Regions from separate parts of the Homo sapiens genome. Here all the other regions are linked to region 1. Evidence: promoter capture Hi-C in human tissues and cell types (Jung and others, 2019). All regions are on one chromosome and are shown on one strand. Each heading gives the region's core, a stretch centred on a gene start or on the middle of the fragment in contact. The rest is flanking DNA. Distances are from core to core; before and after follow the strand shown.

Region 1 (3,537 bases), core at 144-2,643:
ATCGCGCCACTGCACTCCAGCCTGGGCTACACAGGCAGACTCCGTCTCAAAAAAAAAAAAAAAAAAATGTTAGAACCATTCAACTAGCATTCTGTAGACCAAATTATCTAAACAGTAGCTCTCCTCTTCCTTTTTCTGCCATGTTATCCATAAGATTTGGCCTGTATCACCTTATAATAAATGAAGAGAGTCTTAAATTCTTATAATACCAAACTCCTTTGGAGAGAATTCAGAATAGATTTATGTCATCTCAAATTCTATCCTATTCCAGTTAATGTTACAGACAGATTCTAGTATACTTTACAAAGATAGGTGAATAAGTAGAGTTTTGAAAAGATACAGACATAAAAGTGAAGAACAGATGCCTTCTGATGCTAGATTTTCCAAAACTCCTACTGTTATGCTTATATAGAAATCATTCTCAGACCTTCCTTGGATTAATTTCTGTTCCTAGAGCAAACTGGTAGTTATTTCTTTCTTTAATAGAACATGAACTTGTCCATCACATCCTAGAAAGTTAGTCCTAGGGATATCCTTTAAAGCCTAAAGGAGTAAATTAAGAGCAAAAAAAGGAAGTAGACCTTGCAACAGGTGGTGAGTGTCTGAGATATAGCACTAGGAGAGAAATAATATAGATTGAAAACAGAAATCCTTAAACATTTCTCATATAAACCCATGAAAGATAGATCCATAAATATTGTGGGGACTATGGGGACTAGGAAGCTTGGAAGTATCCCTAATCTAGATAGTGATGGTAGGCTAAATATCTACGGCTTCCGTAAACGTTCCTCTAAACCTCCCTGTAAAAAACACACTAAGCTGATTGTGTAATGAGCTGATCCAGTACAATTGCCTCCAATTTCATTCTGGACCCTGAACAGGAGGGGACATCGTGACAAAGCAAATTGTCTGGTATCATGAATTTGGAACACCGTAAGTGATCTTTACTGAGGGTTACATTCTGTCATTGTCAGCCTTTTAAGGAGGCCTTGCCACCAGCGCAGGGGAGGTGAAGTCTAAGGGAAGGTAATATTGTCAATGCCTGCTAATTAGTTCTACCCTGGAGATTTTAACTTTCTGCGAAGTTTTTAAAAACAACTTCCAAAACTCTGCTGATCCTGAAATGTTCGAGAATTCAGAGTTCCTAGACAATGGCTACTGTCCCCCTTCCCACTGATTAGGGGAGTTGGCATTTCAGGAACCAGAGTTTCTAAGGGCGCCAAATAGAAGGGCTCAAAGGGAATCAGCAGGCGATGGTTACTGTGGGCGGGTAAATCAGGTGATTTAGAGGAGGGGTTTGGCGAGGTTGGGGTCGGGCTTTAAACGTGGGAGGGCTAATTAACAGGAGATTAACTGGAGAGGGGCGGTGCCTGCGTCCGGCCCGCGCGGCCACAGTCCCTGCATTGCGCGCGACCCGGCGGCGGGACAGGCTTGCTGCTTCCTCCTCCTCGGCCTCACCGTGCGTACTGGGAGGGGAGAAGGGGACCGCATGCAAAGGGTGGCAGGCAGGGAGGGCCAGGGTGGGTGGCAGATGGAAGACTTGGGGGGGTCTCTGCCAGCTGGAAGTGCTTGGCTCCACTTAGCAGCTAAACTTAGCTTTTCAATCGATCGCTTTTGAAAGGGAATTGTATTTCTGTCCCCGTGCGGGTAAGTTTTCCCATTTCTCAAACTCCAGGAATGAAACGAGAGAGTCTTTTCATGCTTGAGTGATGATTTCCAAACTTAGCCTTTTCAAGTCAAAGTAACCTCCTGTTTGAAAGGGTCCCTTGAACTCTGGGGAAGGAGGAAAAGGCACGTGTAGTAATGGAGGAAATGCCTGTAGTTTGAACGACTGCTGTTCTCCCCAAGAGTGCAAAAGCCTGCGATGTCTCAGGTTTCATGGGCATAGTGGCCTTTATGCCTATTGTAAGGCAGGATTTGCTCTTCTGAGTTCACTTTGATAGGAGAAACATCAGCAAGTTTTAAAATAATACTAAATAATACTACTGCTAATAATGCTAGCTATCGAAACAAGAGGATGTGGGTTAGATGATAATATTTTTGTGTGATATTATAGCCAGTGACAAGAGAGCTAAGGGTGAGCCCCTTGGGACGGTTCTCACCTGTGCCCCACTTCCCCAGTCTGGAGGAGGAAGCCATGTGGAAGGAGAAAAGGAGAAGGGAACTCTCTTTTTCGGGAATTAAGGTGTCATATATTGCTCTAGCTGGCTTGGGACAGAGGAGAGAGGAGTGCATGTAAATCTTCTAGTCTCTCTGCTTCTCTTGAAATGTGGCAGTCTGAGCTCCACGTTTATATTCCCCTATTTCTTCTCCCTAATTTCTTACCCAGTGAGTGCTGAGTGGGTGCCCGCAAGCATTGCTGTATAGCACCCAGGCCTCCAGTGAGCAATCCTTAAAGCCCAGTTTTCCTGGGGTCCCAGCCTGCTGTGAGTCCCAGCCTACACCTACCTTTTGCATATGCTTTTCTTGGCCTTAGGATAGTACTGGACTTTGTTGTCCTCTGCTGTTTCCAAAATAAGAGGGCTATGTGTGCGATTATCTTTGGTAATTAAAAAAAAAAAAAAAAAAAAGGCAAATCAGTCCAAATTTGGATATTACCCTCTCTGGCAGACGAGTAAAATTTTTCTACCGCTTTGTTTTAGAGTGGTGTCTATGAATCCCTGAGATTGGAAAAGGAGGTCAGGTCAGCACAGAGAAAGGCCTTACCCCACCACTCTCCCGAGAGGCACCAGCATTTCACCTGCAGCCTCTGGGCTCTGAACCCCACTTTGCATGAGACCACATAGTGGGCTGAGTCTGCAGCCACCACGATGCCTTCAGGAAATGCTAGAATTCATCTAGAGTTCCAGATTAACGTATCCGCAACATGGCCACCGAATTATCTTTTTTCTTTATCTCATGTGTAGTGTTTGTTAGTTTTAGAAGGTACAAAATTGCAGAGTCATGGCCCTGGGGATGCGTGCCCAGATTATTCATGTGTTTCACAATATTGATGCAGAAAGGCTGGCCACCTCATCCTGAGAAGAGAACTTTGCTCATTTTGGCCAAAAGCCTGTAAAGGGAAAGGGCGTTCCTCAACTGAGAAGTGAAGATTCTTCTCTGCTAGATAGTACGGGGGTTTGGGGGGAGGGGTAGAAAACAGGAATGAGATTTGACAAGGAAAGGCCTCCAGAAGACCAGAGCTGTTGAGAATTCTTAGCCTTGATGGTGGGTAGCCCAGAGGTAAACACTTGAGAAAACTAAGTTGCAGTCTTGGTCTCTCCACTGTGAATTTGGGTCATATTACTCACTACTTTTCTGGGCCTTAATTTCCTTACATACTAAAGGTAGAAAAAAATATTATTTGCTCTACCTCAGGATTTTTCGGGTCAAGCGAGATAAAATATGCAAAAGCTTTTTGAAAATTCTAAAATCCTCAGTGCCTAGAACAGCGCCAAAGTCGGAAGTTTTTTATTTACCAAACACACAGCATTTAACAGGTCCCAGAGCTTCTTTTTTTTTTTTTTTTTTTGAGACGGGGTCTCGCACTGTCACCCA
Region 2 (3,449 bases), core at 163-2,662, 34 kb after region 1:
TTAATTGTGATGTTAGGGTGTCAATTTTAGGTCTTTCCTGCTTTCTCTTGTGGGCATTTAGTGCTATAAATTTCCCTCTACACACTGCTTTGAATGTGTGCCAGAGATTCTGGTATGTTGTGTGTTTGTTCTCATTGGTTTCAAAGAACATCTTTATTTCTGCCTTCATTTCATTATTTACCCAGTAGTCATTCAGGAGCAGGTTGTTCAGTTTCCATGTGGTTGAGCGGTTTTGAGTGAGTTTTTTTAATCCTGAGTTCTAGTTTGATTGCACTGGGGTCTGAGAGACAGTTTGTTATAATTTCTGTTCTTTTACATTTGCTGAGGGGTGCTTTACTTCCAACTATGTGGTCGATTTTGGAGTAGGTGTGGTATGGTGCTGAAAAGAATGTATATTCTGTTGATTTGGGGTGGAGAGTTCTGTAGATGTCTATTAGGTCTGCTTGGTGCAGAGCTGAGTTCAATTCCTGGGTATCCTTGTTAACTTTCTGTCTTGTTGATCTGTCTAATGTTGACAGTAGGGTGTTAAAGTCTCCCATTATTATTGTGTGGGAGTCTAAGTCTCTTTGTAGGTCACTGATGACTTGCTTTATGAATCTGGGTGCTCCTGTATTGGGTGCATATATATTTAGGATAGTTAGCTCTTCTTGTTGAATTGATCCCTTTACCATTATGTAGTGGCCTTCTTTGTCTCTTTTGATCTTTGTTGGTTTAAAGTCTGTTTTATCTGAGACTAGGATTGCAATCCCTGCCTTTTTTCTTTTCCATTCGCTTGGTAGCTCTTCCTCCATCCCTTTATTTTGAGCCTATGTGTGTCTCTGCATGTGAGATGCACCTGAATACAGCACACTGATGTGTCTTGACTCTTTATCCAATTTGCCGGTCTGTGTCTTTTAATTGGAGCATTTAGCCCATTTACATTTAAAGTTAATATTGTTATGTGTGAATTTTTTCCTGTCATTATGATGTTAGCTGGTTATTTTGCTCGTTAGTTGATGCAGTTTCTTCCTAGCATTGACAGTCTTTACAATTTGGCATGTTTTTGCAGTGGCTGGTACCGGTTCTTCCTTTCCATATTTAGTGCTTCCTTCAGGAGCTCTTTCAGGGCAGGCCTGGTGGTGACAAAATCTCTCAGCATTTGCTTGTCTGTAAAGTATTTTATTTCTCTTTCACTTATGAAGCTTAGTTTGGCTGGATATGAAATTCTGGGTTGAAAATTCTTTTCTTTAAGAATGTTGAATATTGGTCCCCACTCTCTTCTGGCTTGTAGAGTTTCTGCCGAGAGATCAGCTATTAGTCTGATGGGCTTCCCTTTGTGGGTAACCCGACCTTTCTCTCTGGCTGCTCTTAACATTTTTTCCTTCATTTCAACTTTGGTGAATCTCACAATTATGTGTCTTGGGGTTGCTCTCGAGGAGTATCTTTGTGGCATTCTCTGTATTTCCTGAATTTGAATGTTGGCCTGCCTTGCTAGATTGGGGAAGTTCTCCTGGATAATATCCTGCAGAGTGTTTTCCACCTTGGTTCCATTCTCCCCATCACTTTCAGGTACACCAATCAGATGTAGATTTGGTCTTTTCACATAGTCCCATATTTCTTGGAGGCTTTGTTCATTTCTTTTTATTCTTTTTTCTCTAAACTTCTCTTCTCGCTTCGTTTCATTCATTTCATCTTCCATCACTGATACCCTTTCTTCCAGTTGATCGCATCAGCTACTGAGGCTTCTGCATTCTTCACATAGCTCTCGTGCCTTGGTTTTCAGCTCCATCAGGTCCTTTAAGTACTTCTCTGCATTGGTTATTCTAGTTATCCATTCATCTAATTTTTTTTTCAAAGCTTTTAACTTCTTTGCCATTGGTTCGAATTTCCTCCTGTAGCTCGGAGTAGTTTGATCATCTGAAGCCTTCTTCTCTCAACTCATCAAAGTCATTCTCTGTCCCGCTTTGTTCCGTTGCTGGTGAGGAGCTGCATTCCTTTTGAGGAGGAGAGGCGCTCTGATTTTTAGAGTTTCTAGTTTTTCTGCTCTGTTTTTTTCCCATCTTTGTGGTTTTATCTACCTTTGGTCTTTGATGATGGTGACATACAGATGGGTTTTTGGTATGGATGTCCTTTCTGTTTGTTAGTTTTCCTTCTAACAGACAGGACCCTCAGCTGCAGGTCTGTTGGAGTTTGCTGGAGGTCCACTCCAGACCCTGTTTGCCTGGGTATCAGCAGCAGTGGCTGTAGAACAGTGTGTATTGGTGAACCGCAAATGCTGCTGCCTGATCGTTCCTCTGGAGGTTTTGTCTCAGAGGAGTACCCGGCCGTGTGAGGTGTCAGTCCGCCCCTACTGGGGGGGTGCCTCCCAGTTAGGCTATTCGGGGATCAGGGACCCACTTGAGGAGGCAGTCTGCCCGTTCTCAGATCTCAAGCTGTGTGCTGGGAGAACCACTACTCTCTTCAAAGCTGTCAGACAGGGACTTTTAAGTCTGCAGAGGTTACTGCGGTCTTTTTGTTTGTCTGTGCCCTGCCCGCAGAAGTGGAGCCTACAGAGGCAGGCAGGCCTCCTTGAGCTGTGGTGGGCTCCACCCAGTTCCAGCTTCCCAGCCGCTTTGTTTACCTAATCAAACAACTAACTCAGCAATGGTGGGCGCCCCTCCCCCAGCCTCGCTGCTGCCTTGCAGTTTGATCTCGGACTGCTGTGCTAGCAATGAGCGAGACTCCGTGGGCATGGGACCCTCCGAGCCAGGTGCGAGATATAATCTCCTGGTGTGCCTTGTTTTAAGCCCATTGGAAAAGCACAGTATTAGAGTGGGAGAGACCTGATTTTCCAGGTGCCGTCTCTCACCCCTTTCTTTGACTAGGAAAGGGAATTCCCTGACCCCTTGCACTTCCTGGGTGAGGCGATGCCTCGCCTTGCTTTGGCTCGTGCACGGTGCACTGCACCCACTGACCTGCGCCTACTGTCTGGCACTCCCCAGCGAGATGAACCTGGTACCTCAGTTGGAAATGCAGAAATCACCCGTTTTCTGCCTCACTCACGCTGGGAGCTGTAGACCGGAGCTGTTCCTATTCGGCCATCTTGGCTTCTCTCTGAGCTAATACTTTTAAAATATTTTGCACTCCACAGAGGAAGGTTTTATATGTAAGTCTGAGTTTTGTTTTTCTGAGTTGTTTTCAGTTGGTCCATGTGATTACATTTTTATACATGGTAAAAATTTATATATTTTTTTCCAAGTCTTTTTCTTTTTCTTTTCTTTTCTTTTTTCTTTTTATTTTTGAGACGGAGTTTTGTTCTTGTTGTCCAGGATGGAGTGCAATGGCATGATCTCAGCTCACCGCAACCTCTGCCTCCCGGATTCAAGTGATTCTCCTGCCTCAGCCTCTTGAGTAGCTGGGATTACAGGTATGTGCCACTACACCTGGTTAATTTTGTATTTTTAGTAGAGATGGGGTTTCTCAATGCTGGT
Region 3 (3,282 bases), core at 412-2,911, 37 kb before region 1:
ATTTGGTTGGTGGCATGCACAGGCTGATTTGACAGAACTTCTTTTGGATTCTGGCCACACCCTCATTCCATCCAAAGCTCCCTTAGTACATTGTCACACATAGTAGGGGTCCAGGAGTTATGTGTTAGATTAATATTGTTAAATACTCTGGGTGACCAGTGATGAAAATTTCTGAAACATTTTCCTAAGAAGTCAGTAAACACATATTTATTGAGCACCCATATGTGGCCAGGATTGTGCATGAGCAGCTTGAAGGAAAATGCAAAAGAAGCATTAAATCTGTTGGTAGGCGACAATACAGGGAAAATATTAAATATTTATTTGAAATTCCTATATTTACTCCCACCGACCTCAGGAGGAAGTGTCCTTTGCTTTTCAGCTATTAATAGTTTTGGAGAGGGATACTGGATAAACTGAGAGTGGCCAAGTTACTTAAGAACAGGGAAAGCTGTTCGTAAGTTTCCAATGGAAGAGTAGGATGCTGAGAATGAAGTTTTTGGTGTCGCAAAAAAAAAAAAAATTAACACGGGAACAAATGATCTCAGCAAGGCGAGCTTTACTTTCTGCAGAAAGGGTGCTACTCAATAGCTGTCCAGCCATGAGAGCACACCAAACAAAGGAGACAGAGTTATTTATAATCTGACGCGTCTGCCCTACTGTTTTGTCCAATTTCCATTGGCTGGAATAGGACCTCACATTTTACACATTACCCGATTGGCTATTAGTTTAAAACTTTTTTAATTGGGTAAGGGGAACAGAACAAAGAAAGAAAAGGAAGTTGCCCAGGGATAGTTAAGGAAGCATCTGCAAATAAAGAATGGCATGCACTATGGGCTGTGGCTTGTCTAGTTCTGCCCAGGCATGCTGGAGCAAGCTAGGACAGCTGATTTGGAATATATATATATATATATATATATATATATACTAATAGTGGATAGCAATGTTATAGTAAGAAATTGTGACTTTTTGTAATCTTTGAAGAAGAACTTTCCCATTTCTCACAAGGAGGCTAGAAGTGGCCAGAGAATGGAGTGAGAAAAGCCAAAATGGTGATGAACTTTGCATGAGAAGGCAGAGCATGGAGCAGAAAAGAGAGAGAGAAGTTGCTCTAAGGAGTGGATCTTAGAGTACTCCTACAGAGTCAAAGAGAAATATTTAGTGAATTTTAAATGAATTCCTACTTGGTAATATGTGAGGTAAACAACTTTCTTGTCTTTCCAGGAAACCCTCAGTAAAAATATCTCTTTATGAAGTTTTTGGAGTCTGATTTGTTGAGAGGTTTGGAAATAGGACTTACACTGGTCTTAAGAACTGGTTACATTCAAATATAGTAGAAGCATAACAGGATATACTCAAGTACTCATTTATCTAGCATGAACTATAAATATAGGAGTTGTTTTTGCCACCAAATTTGGACACATGATTTGAAAAATGTGATTTACCTGTGCTTATTTAGTTGATTAGTCATTAAAATTTCTGAAATGTTTATCTACTGAATCAATAAACTTATCTGTTGAGCACTTATTATGTGTCCAGAATGAACTGTGCATAACAAGCCCTAAGGAAAATTAAAAAGATGTGCTACTTGTGGCTCTTTGAAACAACATAATAGAGATTATTTTAGGTAATTATAAACTGTCTTAGACTGGGGCTATCCCAGAAAACTCAGGCCACAGGCTCACTAACTACATGCTATCAGGAAGTTAAGCAGGAGATCAGAGAAGATTTTAATAAAGTAACCACTTTTTTTTTTCTGAGTTGCTATGGTGGGAATTTTACTGAATTAATATTTATTGAGCACCTAGTAGGTGCCAGGTGCCCTGCTAGGCCCCAGCACATAGATGAGGCATTAAACATGCCCTTCAGAAAAGCGTGGTCAAAGGAAGAAAGAGAGAGAGCAAGACATACAAACAAATATTATGGTAAATGGAATAAAGGTCATGATAGCTGTTACTGCAAGTTTAGCCTGACTGACCCCATGACCCTGTTGAGCTAGGCTTTGCCCATCCAGGTGCAGAGATAGGAATCCTGATGATTAGGCAGGGATAGCAAGTGAGGTCAAAGGAATTGGTGAAGGATGTTGAATAAATAGAAATGTACAAGGGACAGGAAGTAAATGGAGGAAAGAGATATTCATTCAATGGCATGAAGTCTAGTAGAGGTTTGGGGACTTAGTTGGTACCCAGTATTGCAAGAGCTTCCCAATTGCACTTCTTATTTTCAGTCCAAGCTCATAATTAGCAAGTGAATCTTCTTTAAAATATGGCACATACATGCTGTCCTCTCAAAAGTCTCACAGTTGTTTAAGAGCATAAGTCCCGACTTTTTCTGACATTCAAGATCATCTACAATTTAGCCCCAACATACAATTTTGACCTACAAGAACAGCATTTTTATATATTTCAACCACATAAATTTGTCTCTCTTTACTCCTCCACAAATATGCTCAACTTTAATCATGTTTGACTTCTTTATTGTCTCTGTGTCTTTTTAAAAAATTCCTAATTGCTAAAAACCTTTTTCTAATACTGTTCTTTCATGAAGTTCCTCCAGGTCCCCCTTGACTCCCACCCACAATATGCGATTTCTTTCTCAGCTGAATATACATTGTAATTGGTTTCTCTCTATGGTGTATTCTGTGTTACATTATTATTATTTACATATATCTATGTTTTTTAACCTCTGATTATGAGATTCTTATTGTAATCAACTTTTGATCTTTCCTCTCCTCATACTCATAGCAACTAATACAATGTAAGACTATCGATTACAGTTAAAATAAACAAAATTGAGTGTTTGATGGAGTTGATAGTGAGATACTTGAAGATCCAAAGCAGAAATGCAGGAGAGATACTGAGTTGTGATCCACTGGAGGGCTGATTGAAGAATCTCTCTTTCTCCTTTCCTCTTTTTCCCATGCTCTCTGTTCAGAGAGAGAGAGAGACAGAGAGAGAGAGAGAGAGTGTGTGTGTGTGTGTGTGTGTGTGTGTGTGTTTGGGGGGGAGGTCTTCTTAATATGTAAATGGAGGCTAGGAAATCTAAAAGTATTAGTAGCTGTGAGTAGGCAAAACCACTATAACCTTATTTATTGTGTAATGAGATGGACAGCTTCATTTAAACACTGTGAATAATAAAAAATGCTTTTTGGGGGGATTTCAATATACAGTTTTTCAACAGTTTCAATTAGTGGATATAAAGTATTTTCAATGCCAGCACTTTCTGAGAATGAATTTTATCCTAAAGACTTTTGTCTCCTACTTGCATGAGAATTTTTTTAACAAA

The links. The method cuts DNA at HindIII sites, captures the fragments that hold promoters and counts their contacts. A contact is called where the count stands out against the background at its distance.
Region 2: a fragment that was not itself captured here is called in contact with the fragment with the promoter of MGST1 in region 1 in 1 of the 25 tissues and cell types used here (dorsolateral prefrontal cortex).
Region 3: a fragment that was not itself captured here is called in contact with the fragment with the promoter of MGST1 in region 1 in 1 of the 25 tissues and cell types used here (hippocampus).

The regions. Positions count from the first base shown.
Region 1 is chr12:16,346,252-16,349,788 of GRCh38, forward strand. It overlaps MGST1 (microsomal glutathione S-transferase 1), which reads left to right and starts at 1,394. Exons shown (of 4, transcript NM_020300.5): 1 at 1,394-1,459. RefSeq lists enhancers at 484-1,413, 2,344-3,273. The HindIII fragment of the contact is 4,760 bases long and covers 46-3,537 here.
Region 2 is chr12:16,380,220-16,383,668 of GRCh38, forward strand. It overlaps a transcript of MGST1 not described here. Among named protein-coding and RNA genes, the nearest start is that of MGST1, 34 kb to the left of the region's middle. RefSeq lists enhancers at 2,139-2,732, 2,733-3,325. The HindIII fragment of the contact is 5,333 bases long and covers 1-3,449 here.
Region 3 is chr12:16,309,151-16,312,432 of GRCh38, forward strand. No RefSeq gene overlaps it. Among named protein-coding and RNA genes, the nearest start is that of SLC15A5, 33 kb to the left of the region's middle. The HindIII fragment of the contact is 6,943 bases long and covers 1-3,282 here.